Linked DNA regions of Homo sapiens: all the other regions are linked to region 1. The links are contacts of gene promoters, found by promoter capture Hi-C in blood cells and fetal thymus (Javierre and others, 2016). All regions are on one chromosome and are shown on one strand. The core of a region is centred on a gene start or on the middle of the fragment in contact, and the rest is flanking DNA. Distances in the headings are between cores, read along the strand shown. Region 1 holds the start of SNX18 (sorting nexin 18). Region 2 has its middle 9.6 kb from the start of GZMA. Region 3 overlaps CDC20B (cell division cycle 20B).

Region 1 (4,070 bases), core at 1,382-3,881:
AGTTGCTACAAAGAAAAGTGAGACTGTGGGATGGACAGGGGATGGGAGGGAGGGAGGGAGATTATATTAGCATAATTAGTACCAGCTGCCTCAGCAATCTCTGAAATTTCAGTGGCTTAGTCGGACAAAGGATTTTTCTCTCACAAAGTATGATTGGGGTCGGTGACTCAGGGACCCAGGCTCCCTCTGTCTTCCGGTATCTCCAAGGAAGGAGAAGAAAGGAGGGATGGAAAGCCCCATGGTTCTGACCGAATGAAGCGATGATGTGGCATGGTGGATCTCCCGGGGAAGAGGGCTCCAGGGAGAGAGAAAAGCGAAGGCAAAAACTTCAGCAAGAAACGTGCTTGACTTGTCCCAAAAATAGCAAAGCAACCACTGTGGCTTCTTTCAGTGGAAAAGGGGGCTGGAAAGATAGCCAAGGGCCAGGCTATCTAAGGCCTCTCAGGCCAAGGGAGGAAGTAAGAAAATGCAATTGTTTGGGGTCATTTAGTGTCCCCTAAAAACTTTACAGAAGCATATGGGTGGTTATAATGATTGTGTAAACTAAACTGTGAATAATATGCTCCATTTTCTAGAGAAATCTTTACAAAATGTGTTACTGTATCTATTTCCCTGAGTGAACAGTTATAGGTTGTTAATACTGGAGCACAATTTTCTACATATCTAAGACCCTCTAGAGGTAGGGGTTTTCCTGCCACTAGTGGCCATAGGGCCAAACATCATGACAGCCTGTCCTCATCCTTCTGGAAGCCTGATGCGCGGCAAGCACAGAGGCCTCCCACTGGACTCCTACAAAGTAAGCACCTGCAGACGCCCATGCCCCAGTGCTACAAACAACCTTGGACACCCAATAATTCCTCAACCACCATTTCTACAGAGTAGCTCAACCAGTCTGTAAAAAATCATCACCTTAAACTCCTGGAATTTTCACACCTGAAATAAGCCCAAAGTTACTGTACTTAACTCTAATCTAAAAAGTAACTACTAAACGAACAGAAGGGGCGAAACTAAATTTATTTATCTTACATATTCTAGGTTAGCTTTTCAGAAGTAAAATGAGTCATATTCTAGAGGTTTAGTTAATGTGGACTTCATGTTTCTGACCACATGAAATGTTGGCATTGAAATTCAATGATCCCTGTTGCTTACTGTGAGAATAGTCAAAACCCAGAATTTTCAGCTAAAAATGTAATTTAGAATATGCTTACTGAATTGAATTAAGGTTTTGCATTAGGATAAACACTGTGGGAGTGATTCTGGTATAGTGGGTTTGTGTTTTTGTGCAAGATGCTTACAATACCACAGCCCTTAGAATAATTGTACACTCTTCTGGCCCGTTTCCCAGGTTTCCTTGAAAAGGGTCAGAGGACAGGCTGAAATTAATGACACATGAATGCAGAACCTCAATTAGAAGTGTCTTCAAAGGAATAATTAGGCTAGACTTAATAAGAGGGGATTAAGAGAAGAAAAAGCTTTGGGCAAATTATACACTGAAGGAAAGGAAGATAGGAAACAAGGCAACGATAGATTGGAGCTGATTATTTCAGGAAGTGATTTTTGTTCTATTTATCTTAAAAATAATATAAATATAGTGAGACATAGAGACAACAGATGGATGGATGGTCACTGACCTCTTACTAGGAGTGGCAATGTGAACATTGGGACGCTTCCTGGTGCATGTACCCTGCAATTGTTAGTTTAGTACCCCTATTCCCTTTGTGAAAGAGGCCAGGGATTTTGCTTCCCCCAAATAACAGTAACAGCAGCAAAAGCAGCAACAAACCCTTCAAATCTGCTTACCCTGCCAGATATTGTTTCACTTTCCTCATCTGTAAAATAGGGATTACTTTATGATGGAATCCCCACAACAACCCCCGGAGGTAGGTACGATATAAGTGCCTTGTTCCAGGTCATACAGCTAGGTAGTGTCAGAACACAGATTGAAATTCAGAAGCCTGGCTCCGAAGTTTGAGCTCTCATTCACCGCACTACATATATCTATGGGAGGATAGGCGACACATGCATGTAATAAATGTGTGAGCATTTATTGTACTGGAAACTCTCCAGCTCCTCCCTCTCTACATGATCCTTTGCTTCTAATTTTGTCAATCACAGCACCTTCCCTGGCCCTTACTTTGTTCTTGCCAATCTCCTCTCCTTGAGCAGAAGAGGGAAGGGAGCCTGCTCTGTAGGTGAACAGCTCCTCCGCAGAGGCATCCTGTTTTCTTAGTGCAATCACTAATTCGCATTGCAAAATGCTTTATTACATGACTGGGTTGCCATTCTAGGAGCATTCACTGAGCGCTCAGAGTGGGAACGTTTATCAGGCATGCAAATGCTAACTTACTTTCTAGAGAATGTTTAACTTAAAAGCCTAAAGAAATCTCAGATAATTCACTTCGGAGTAGAAACCTCCTTCAGCCGCGCTCACTACGGCGCCCGGCTTCGCGGCACCGGCCACTAGAGGGCAGTGGCCGCCGCAAAGCCGACGCGGGCGGTGGGCTCGGCGGCTCGGCCATCGCTTGCTCTCGCCTGGCAAGGGGCTCTCGGCCGTGGATTAGCGCAGCTGGAGACGTGGGAGGCCGCGGGCCCCGCCCCCGACCGGCGGCGGCTGCGGCGGCCCAGCGCGGCAGTCGGCGCTGCGAAGTGGAGGCGCTGCGAGCGGAGCCGCGCGGAGGGCGCGACCGGCTGGTCCGGGCAGCGTGGGTTTGCCGCCTTCGGGGCTCCAGTCCGCGCGCCAGGGCTCGAGCAGTACCGCGGGCCCCTCAGGTGGGCCTCGGCTCGGGACGCCGGGAGTCGGGACCGCCAGTCGGGGCGCCGGGACCATGGCGCTGCGCGCCCGGGCGCTGTACGACTTCAGGTCGGAGAACCCAGGAGAGATCTCGCTGCGAGAGCACGAGGTGCTGAGCCTGTGCAGCGAGCAGGACATCGAGGGCTGGCTCGAGGGGGTCAACAGCCGCGGCGACCGCGGCCTCTTCCCGGCCTCCTATGTGCAGGTGATCCGCGCCCCCGAGCCTGGCCCGGCGGGAGACGGCGGCCCGGGCGCCCCGGCCCGCTACGCCAATGTGCCCCCCGGGGGCTTCGAGCCCCTGCCTGTCGCGCCCCCCGCCTCCTTCAAGCCGCCGCCTGACGCCTTCCAGGCGCTGCTGCAGCCACAGCAGGCGCCGCCTCCGAGCACCTTCCAGCCGCCCGGCGCGGGCTTCCCGTACGGCGGGGGCGCCCTGCAGCCGTCGCCTCAGCAGCTCTACGGCGGCTACCAGGCCAGCCAAGGCAGCGATGATGACTGGGACGACGAGTGGGACGACAGCTCCACGGTGGCGGACGAGCCGGGCGCTCTGGGCAGCGGAGCATACCCGGACCTCGACGGCTCGTCTTCGGCGGGTGTGGGCGCAGCCGGCCGCTACCGCCTGTCCACGCGCTCCGACCTGTCCCTGGGTTCCCGCGGCGGCTCGGTCCCCCCGCAGCACCACCCGTCGGGGCCCAAGAGCTCGGCCACCGTGAGCCGCAACCTCAATCGCTTCTCCACCTTCGTCAAGTCCGGCGGGGAGGCCTTCGTGCTGGGGGAGGCGTCAGGCTTCGTGAAGGACGGGGACAAGCTGTGCGTGGTGCTGGGGCCCTATGGCCCCGAGTGGCAGGAGAACCCCTACCCGTTCCAGTGCACCATCGACGACCCCACCAAGCAGACCAAGTTCAAGGGCATGAAGAGCTACATCTCCTACAAGCTGGTGCCCACGCACACGCAGGTGCCGGTGCATCGGCGCTACAAGCACTTCGACTGGCTGTACGCGCGCCTGGCGGAGAAGTTCCCGGTCATCTCCGTGCCCCACCTGCCCGAGAAGCAGGCCACCGGCCGCTTCGAGGAGGACTTCATCTCTAAGCGCAGGAAGGGCCTGATCTGGTGGATGAACCACATGGCCAGCCACCCAGTGCTGGCGCAGTGCGACGTCTTCCAGCACTTCCTGACGTGCCCCAGCAGCACCGACGAGAAAGCCTGGAAGCAGGGCAAGAGGAAGGCCGAGAAGGACGAGATGGTGGGCGCCAACTTCTTCCTGACCCTTAGCACGCCCCCC
Region 2 (4,656 bases), core at 1,845-4,344, 580 kb after region 1:
AATGGTACTCACCACTTTGCCAAGCATCGATAGGCAATGGTACCTTTGTGGTCGCCAAAATGTGTCCAGAATTGGTTCCTTCCGGTGGGTTCTTGGTCTTGCTGACTTCAAGAGTGAAGCTGCAGACCTTCGCAGTGAGTGTTACAGCTCTTAAAGGTGGTGTGATTGGAGTTGTTTGTTCCTTCTGGTGGGTTTGTGATCTTGCTGACTTCAGGAGTGAAGCTGCAGACCTTCACAGTGAGTGCCACAGCTCATAAAGGTAGTGCAGACCCGAAGAGTGAGCAGCAGCAAGATTTATTGTGAAGAGCAAAAGAACAAAGCTTCCACATCATGGAAGGGGACACGAGTGGGTTACTGCTGTGGGCTGGGGTGGCCAGCTTTTATTCTCTTATTTGGCCCCTCCCACATCCTGCTGATTGGTCCATTTTACAGAATGCTGATTGGTCCATTTTACAGAGTGCTGATTGGTGCTTTTACAAACCTTTAGCTAGACACAGAGCACTGATTGGTGCGTTTTTACAGAGCGTGGATTGGTGCATTTACAATCTTTCAGGTAGACACAGAGCACTGATTGGTGCATTTACAATATCTCTAGCTAGACAGAAAAGTTCTCGAAGTCCCCACTCAACCCAGGAAGTCTCATTATTACATATTCGGTTGATCCATAGGAAATTACTACTATTTCACTTTAAAAATAGCAATTTCTCATGGTTCAAACTAGTGGTTTTCCTAGTTATTATTCAAAAGGCAGAATAATGTTTATCACATGGATATGCTGCTGTTTTCTTAATCAGTACCTGTTGTTAGCAACCAGTACCTATTATTTCCGTATTCACTTTAACACAGATTGCATGAACAAAAGAACAGGCTTAAAAACTAGCTTCTCACAAATATTTGAACATATTTACATTATACTGTTATATGAAGTAAGAATTTGTCAAATAAGAACTTCAGCACAATTTGCAGTGAAAATAAAGCTAGACACCGGGATGATTAATTAATGGAACAGCTCAATGCAGTCTGCCCAACAAATCAGAAAATATTTTGCCCTCTTCTCCTAGAATAGCTACATAAGGTGCATAAACTAGATTCAGGTTTAGCCCTAGTTCATTTGTTTGCACGTGCATGAGCGTGAGTGTGTATGTGTGTGCGTGTGTATGTGTGTATGTAGAACTGGCTTTAAGATTACACTATAAAACCAAGGTTTATTTCTTCATTTCAACTTTTAAAAGCTTAACTGTGGTCAACTTTTCTCATCTTTGGAGACTTCAGCAAGGCAGACTGTTTCCCAGAAGCATGGGAAAGTATACCTGCTACTTCTCTAGTTCTCAGGTTTGGTCTCTTCCATTAGGTATCAACAACCGAGAAGGCCACTAGGGAATGGGCTTTACTCCACAAATCCAAAGGAAGTGAAGAAATTGGCAGCTCCCCTTTCAGCAGGTGAATGGCAGAGCCCAGCTCCTCTACCCAGGCAGCCCCAGCTACCACTGGCCCAAGGGAAGCCCCGACTCCAGGTCCCAAGCAGATCTCTCCAGGCCTTTACAAGTCAGTGCTCTTGCCTCTGCCAAAACACCTGGGACTCCCTTTCCGTTGCTTCTTCCTTGAAAAGATGTGGTGAAGTTGAAGCAATGTATCATAACACACATCTTGGGAATTTAGGGTAACAGGTGCTAAAACACCAGAGGGAAAAAAAAGCTCCCTAAGTTCCTTCTGTCTTGCAGTGCTTGTTTATAAATCAGAAGGCATTTGAAAACACTGACCAGACTTGAGTAAATTAAGCCAATAGTTTAGTTTCATCCATTCTCTTACATAAGTTAGGTGGTGTTTCTTTCCAAGAGGGGCAAACTTCAAATTATTCTTGGGGCCCACTCTACATCCCATAAACAGAAACTTGACCAGAAAGTTTCCATTAAAAAGGCGATTTCCTATCCATGCTATGATCCACAGCCATTCATATGGTATCTTTAACTCCTTCAGATAAATATGTGGGGGGGGTTTGATAACTATTTTGAAATAGTAAAAGGTCAGTGCAACCTGAAACTTTTCCTATGTAATTTTTGTCTATATATAAGTAAACCTGCAGAAGTAGCAGGTTTACTTTCCCATGCTTTGGGAAACAGTGTGCCTTGCTGAAGTCTCCAAGGATGAGAAAAGTTGGCCAGAGTCAAGCTTTTAAATGTTGGAATGAAGAAATCAACCTTGATTTTATAGTGTAATCTTAAAGTAGGTTCTACATACACACATACACACACACAGACATACACACACGCGCGCGCACACACACACACACACACATGCACTTGTGCTAATGCACAGAGTGGGCTAATGCCTCAAGTCTGGGGGTAGGAAGTACAGCCAGGCCCAGTACTGCTACCACAGATGTCCCTTCCCCCTTGTGAATTCAGTTCGTCAACAGCTGTTCACAAAAGTCCCTCTTGGCAATCTACAGTGGTGATGCCCGTAAATCCAAGACCACTGGGAATTCACCTGAAGTCAAACAAATTTATGTTCATTGATGCTGGCTTAGCAAGGGAGACTGCTCACTATGTGAAACCATGGGCTGGCTCAGTAAGAGGGTGTTGGTTGGGGCTTTTCACAAGCTTGGAGCTTGTGTTGGGCAGTTTGGGGTAGGATTCAAGGAAGAATGAGTTTGCTGTGAATTGGGTGTTGTCAGCAAGTGGAATAATTCTGTGATTCAGTCTCTTAATAAACCTTAATTATCTAGGAGACAGAAAGAATGGAAAGACTCAAACATGATGCCAGAGAGGACTTGTTTTTTTCTCACTTTATTAGAATCACCTGGTCTGACACTGATGTTCCATGAGAGTGTTTATGAGTAGCCAGAAAATTTGAATGCTTAGCTGTTAGTGCCAGCCTGCCAGAAATCAGGACTTGCTCCCAGACAAATAAATCTCCAGCTCTGATCTAATGGTATTTTGTCCATCAGTTACAGAGATAACTAAGAAGAGGGCTCTATCTTGAGTACATGGGGAAGCTTCCTGGAGAAGGACAGAGTCAGCCAGGAGGAAGGGAGGGAGGGTCCTTACCAGCAGGAAGAAGAGTATGTACTGGAGGTGTCTTTCTGGACAATGCATTTGGAGGAATTGGGGAGAAAAGGGAGTTAACACAAGATTTGAGAAAGAGGGGTAGGCAGGACACAGACCACAAAGCCAGGCCTTGCAAACCTTGGTAAGAAGCTTGAGCTTTATGGGGAAGGAAATGGTAAAGTGTTTTGAGTAGGGTTGCAACATTATCACCCTTGTTGTTAAATGATCATTCTGGCTGCCATGCTGAAAGTGGAGTAGGGCAAAACAGGTCTGGAAGAAAGAGTGTAAACAGTTCACACTAGCCCTAAAGGGCTGATGATGATGGTCACCAGCAGGAGTTAGGAGGAAGCCTGACATTCTGGCATGGTAGCTCATGCCTATAATCCCAGCACTTTGGGAGGACAAGGCAGGAGGATCACTTAAGCCTACGAGCTCAGATCAGCCTGAGCAACATAGTGAGACTCCCATCTCTACAAAAAAATTTAAAAATTAGCCAGGCATGGTGGTGCATGCCTTTAGTCCCAGCTTCTCATGAGGCTGAGGTAGGACGATTGCTGGAGCCCAGGAGTTGGAGGCTGCAGTGAGCTGTGATGGTTCCACTGTACTGCATCCTGGATGAGCTGTGATCACACCATAACTCTTCAGCCTAGATGACAGAGTGAGGCCCTAATTCAAAAAAAGAAAAAAGAGAGACAGAGAGAAAGCCCAGGGGTTGGCCCACTCCCATCATTGGGAATAAAGAAAGGCCTTTAGGGTTCTGTGCACTTCTGGCAAAACCTCCATACTCCTTGCCCCCCACCACTTACAGCCTGATTCCAACAGGGCATCCTAGGCCCTGAAGGACACTCCCTTCCCTGCCCCTCAGAGGGCACTCCTTGGCCCACTCCCCTGCTACATTTTCCTCCATGGCATCTAACACACCCTGATATACTTTAGATGGTGTATGTCTGCCTGCCTCCCTCACTGGAACCTAAGCTCCACATAAGAGATACTTTTGTCTACTTACTTCTATGACCTCCAATACCTAGAACAACAGTATGTGATACATAATTAGGCCCTCGATAAATATTTCTTGAATAATTTTGAATAAGAGATGGAATTAAGCCAGACAGTGGCAAATGTAATCAAAAGCAGAGAAGGGATTCTAGACTCTGGTTTCAAGCAAGTGGTAGAAGTCAGGTCTCCTTCAGGACCTGAAAATCTTACCTTTAGAAAGGAATGAGGTGGGTACAGGAGGTGAGGGGCCCATGCTGTTAGAGCTGGGAAACTCCTTCCCACCTATGACACTATGGCCAATAGTGTGATGCTGCGAGGGAATCCACAAAGAAGGTGTCAAGACTTGACCAGGGATAGTTAACTCTCCAGGGCTAAAACCTAATTGTGCGGCCATGGTAGTCCTATGCAGTTGACCATAAGAGAGCTTGAATGGGGACTGCTCCTTACAAACATGTGCTTCCCAGACTCTGATACACTCATTAAGCCCCAAAGTCCCTTTTGAAGTCTCCCTCCTCCTTGTCCTCAGATAGCAAGCATGCAGGCTGTGAGGAAGCATGAGTGGGTGAGAAGTCGGAAAGTTGCACATGCACATTTCAAGTCCTGTTCTATAGAA
Region 3 (4,620 bases), core at 2,044-4,543, 610 kb after region 1:
GACACATCTGTGTCACCAAGTCCTCAAGAAGGAAACTATGGAATTTTTTTACTAGAAATAAGAATTTAAAAGAGAAATAAATAATTATGCAGAACATGGTGGAGCATTGATCTAATTCCACAGCACCCTGCCATCTTCTGACAGTTGATCTCTTTTCTTACGTGTGAGCTTGTGACCCAGGCCCATCAGTGTGCCCATCTCTCTGGCCACAATTATTAACTGAGAGATGAGAATGTGACCAAAGGCAGACTAGAGTCCTCCCTGGCACATTTCCACCAGAGTTATAAGGAAAAATGGCTTCTTATCCAGCGCCCATCTGGAAGAATCTGAATCTGAAGCTGCCAAGAGCCATCTTGCCCAGAAAATGAAGTCTGAAGGAAGAATGAAACCAGAGATAAGCAGAGCCAAGAGCTAAAAAGATGGGCCCAAATGACATTACTCAAAGCCTTAGATCCAGCTGATATTTAAAACCAGCTGTATGTACCCAGGACTCCAAAGTTACATGAAAAAAATAGATTTACTTTTTTGCTTAAGCTTAAGTTTGACTTTGGTTTCAGTCACCTACAACTAAAAAATCTGACCAGTGGAAAGTATAAATAGGGTTGTCTTTCAGGAGAGTGATGACAAACTCCAAAGCAAATTCTAGAGAAAGAAAAATCTCAAAATATTGGCTTAATGATTTTCTTTTTATATGTGAAGGATACCCAGTGGCCTCTGAGTAACAGGAAACCTAGAAATCTATTGGGTTTCTTACCTTGACTGCCGTAGACTGGGTTATGACTTTCAGCGGTTGGCCCTGTGCACTGGCACCTGGATCGTGGGGCCATATTGTCAGCAGTCCATCACTGCAGCCGCTGGAAAGCAGCCTGCCATCCGGTGACCACTTCAGAGCACACACAGCTTGCTTGTGGCGAAGTGTTCCAACATGATGCTGGGCTACCCGAACATCGTGATGATAAACACGCCCCAGTCTTGACCCACTGCGAGTTTACATAACAAAAAAATTAAGCCCTGTTGCTACATAAACATTTGAAAACATGGAGGAAAGCATAGTTCAAAGTAAAACTTCTGAAAGACCCCTAGGACAGATTCAAAACACAGGTGGAGATTCCTTGGGTTAATAAGGATGGAGTGTTCTGCCTGGAGGATTCTTTTCACAAGTGAAATTGATTTGTCTGGCAGAGTTTGAAGTCTAGATTTAAAAATATCCTTTGATAGATGTTTCTAATGACTTTAATCTGATGTAAGCAGCGATGGAAAAATAAGCTGAGAAGATTACCAGATTTTCCCAAAGACTAGTTTATATACAGGACCTAGGAAATATTAACACTTTTCTGCAACTTTGAATATTTCAGATTATCTCAACAAAATGGTTTCAGTATATATTTACAGTAAAATGTTAGACATAGAAAAAGGAAATAAATATCTAACAGGTAGAGTCCTATTAACCTATAGATCCATTCTTAGTTTTGCTAAAGAACTAAACTTCTTTGTAAAAGAAGTTTAAAACCAATTGAATGTCACAGCAAACTGCAATATGATTCCTAAGCAGTGGATAATGTCTCCATTCATGCTCAGTGATGTGAATCTAAACAACTAAAGATCACATCACTTTTTCAAAGATAATGAACGCTTTCTGGATTAATTTAATTTTCTCTAAGGAGTAAGTAAATGATGTTCCACAATTATTTCAGACATTTCTCAAAGTCCAGTGTCGCATTGTTTAAAACTATGCAATGCTGAACAGCATTGTGATTAACAATATGGGCTCTGGAGCCAGACCAGCTGGGTTATTCCAACTCCATCACTTACTAACCATGTGACTTCAGGCTAGTGTCTTAGTTTAATTTGAAAAAACAAAATTGAGGATAAGAGACCACCTTATCATGTTACTGCAGTGATTAAAATGAAATTACACACATAAAAAGTATAGCACAGTGCCTGGCACAGAGTAGTCTGAAAATGTTAGCTGCTATTATTATAAGAAAGGATCTGCTCATTTTCCTCGTGGATAATGAAACTAAATTTTAACAATGCAGATTAGAAAAGGAGCTTGAGTACATAATTGACTGCAATAACTAAGTTGTTTTAAGACCGGCCAAAAACACAAGATATTCAAGTCTCAAGTTTACATCAGATTACTTAAATACATTTTAAAAGTCTTTGGGATGGCCAGGCGCGGTGGCTCACACCTGTAATCCCAGCACTTTGGCAGGCCGAGGCAGGTGGATCACAAGGTCAGGAGTTCAAGACCATCCTGGCCACCATAGTGAAACCCCATCTCTACTAAAAATACAAAAATTACCCAGGCATGGTGGTGGGCGCCTGTAGTCCCAGCTACTCGGGAGGTGGAGGTTGCAGTGAGCTGAGATCACGCCACTGAACTCCAGCCTAGGTGACAGAGTGAGATTCCATGTCAAAAAAAAAAAAAAAAAAAAACAGTCTTTGGGATTTATCTAACTTAAGTCTACCTTAACCTTAAGAACTACAATATGAAAATGAATGGCTATGATTAAAAGCAATATATATTTAGACCAGTTATGTAGGCTCATAGGAAAAAGTCCCTTAATTTTTCTGGTTAAAAAGAAGCAGTTAAACTAAATCACTAGTTCTCAAAGGGATGTATCATCAGCATCACTTGGGAAATGAGAAATGCCAATTATCAGCCCCTCAAGACCTAATGAATCTGAAGTCCCTCAAGTGAAGCCAGCAATCTGCATTTTGAGGAGCTCTCCAGGTGATTCTGATACATGTTCTAGTTTGAGAACTACTGAACAGGATAATCTATGAGGTTCCTTCTGCTCTAATTTCTGTGGGTCTATGAATTGGAAATGTGTCCCAGAGAGCTTAACATATTCCATAGTATAGATACTGACAGCAATAAATACTTGATTTCAGCAAAATATCCCTTTAGTACCTATTACTTAGCACAGAGAAACCTTTTGCTTGAAGGGATTTTCACATTTTATCTGAACAATTTAGTGCATCCCATGCAGAAGGCACACATGATACATGTGGCCACCAAGACACTTACATGACCAGCAGATCTGAATACCTGAGAGGGTGGGATCATACCTGATATTAAGTCCAATGGCCTATTTTGTTTTATTTTTGATTGGTTTAGGTTTTGAATATTACAACTGTTTACTCAGGCCCCATAATCAATTGTTAATACAAACATAACTGTCTCCAACAAGACGCTTCTTACCTGCTGAGGATAAAGTGATTCCAGCTCAGAGCCCCAACTACTGACAAATGACCAAGCATATTTCTCAGCCGCTTTTTAGTTACCACATCCCATAACTGAAAAAATGAACAAGGAGAGTTATGTAGCATTGGAGTTTTCACAGCCCACTGTCTTCTCAAAGGCCTGAGAGCCAATTACTGCTGATATTGTTAGTTTTTGTACTAAGTGAAAACCCAGCACATCTAGCCAGCAGTTCTCAATTCTGACTGTGTATTAGGATCAGCTGGGGAGTCTATAACACTATGGATGCTGATTTAGTTGGTAGAGTAGAGCCTGGGGATATATGGCAGTTGTTTTAAAGCTCCCCAGGTGAATTCAATGTGCAGCCAAGGGTTGAGAATTATTACCACATTTCTAGCTCCTTCTAAATTGTGAGAATTCCAAATCTGGAAATCTACCCACAGTTACCAACAAATGTATTAATAAGATGTGGGTACCCGGACACTTCCTAGAATCAGTAATTCCACTTACTGCTAAGAGACTCCCTTCCTGCGAGCTACAGATAATATTCTGATCCACATGGGGAATGACAACTTTGGTGTAAGAAGAAATCATGACATAGACTTCACAGCATTCATTATCATTGCAGAGATGAGAAAGCAGTGAGAGAGCCATCTGTGGCCCTCCTAAGTCATTTGCACATGAGTGATATTGTTTATTCTATTGGTAATAAACAATAATAATGATACATGAGAAATCAGATAGATTGATGGAAATTTGATAAATCCCCATCTCAAGGAGCCTATCAGAAAAAAAAATTCACTCATTTTCTATAACTGTACTCTTAATCACGGCTTCAGGTGAAAAGGAGAACTGAAAGTATCTTCCTCTCTCCAAAGCTCCAAAACTGGAGATTCTACAAGCCCAACTTTAGTTTCAGAGAAAATATATTTTTAAATATGACAGAAAGATTGTGGTGGAAACTAACCAGAGTATCCTTACGTTTTCATTAAAAACCATTCAGTAAAAAAAAAAAAAAAAAAGCGGAATGTCATCTCCTTTTATTCCCCATACTTCAAGAGCCACACCTAGTTTCTCTATTTTACATTAACTTGTTATTAAAAGTCAATTATAGTGTAATAATACACAGAGAACATGATGAGAAAAAAAAAAACTGGCCAGTACTTGCACTTCTCCCTCGCTGGTGCCAACTGCCAGGCAAGTTCCCTCTTTTATCCAGGACACAGAAGAGATATAGTTACAAGTGAGACTTAAGTCTATGTTTTCAATCCCATTGTGGTTCTCCCCATTCCAGATGTATACAGCAGAGCCCAGGGCTATGGCAACAAGATTCTGAAAACTCCAATCTAGGATATTCAGATCTATAAGAAAAGCACTTCAAATTAGTATAATTATACAGCCACATGAAAACA

The links. Contacts are between HindIII fragments. The CHiCAGO score rates a contact against its expected background, and 5 or more counts as called.
Region 2: a fragment that was not itself captured here is called in contact with the fragment with the promoter of SNX18 in region 1 in 1 of 17 cell types (fetal thymus); the score reaches 5.1 in fetal thymus.
Region 3: a contact is called between a fragment that was not itself captured here and the fragment with the promoter of SNX18 in region 1, in 6 of 17 cell types (naive B cells, fetal thymus, total CD4 T cells and 3 more). The highest score is 7.9, in naive B cells.

The regions. Positions count from the first base shown.
Region 1 is chr5:54,515,128-54,519,197 of GRCh38, forward strand. SNX18 (sorting nexin 18) reads left to right here and starts at 2,632. Exons shown (of 2, transcript NM_001102575.2): 1 at 2,632-4,070. The coding sequence starts at 2,826. RefSeq lists silencers at 2,386-2,627, 2,508-3,067 and an enhancer at 3,540-4,070. The HindIII fragment of the contact is 5,643 bases long and covers 1,471-4,070 here.
Region 2 is chr5:55,090,754-55,095,409 of GRCh38, forward strand. It overlaps the pseudogene GZMAP1. Among named protein-coding and RNA genes, the nearest start is that of GZMA, 9.6 kb to the right of the region's middle. The HindIII fragment of the contact is 202 bases long and covers 2,994-3,195 here.
Region 3 is chr5:55,124,049-55,128,668 of GRCh38, forward strand. CDC20B (cell division cycle 20B) reads right to left here. Exons shown (of 12, transcript NM_001170402.1): 7 at 4,373-4,569; 8 at 3,209-3,303; 9 at 755-980. Among named protein-coding and RNA genes, the nearest start is that of GZMA, 24 kb to the left of the region's middle. The HindIII fragment of the contact is 5,522 bases long and covers 533-4,620 here.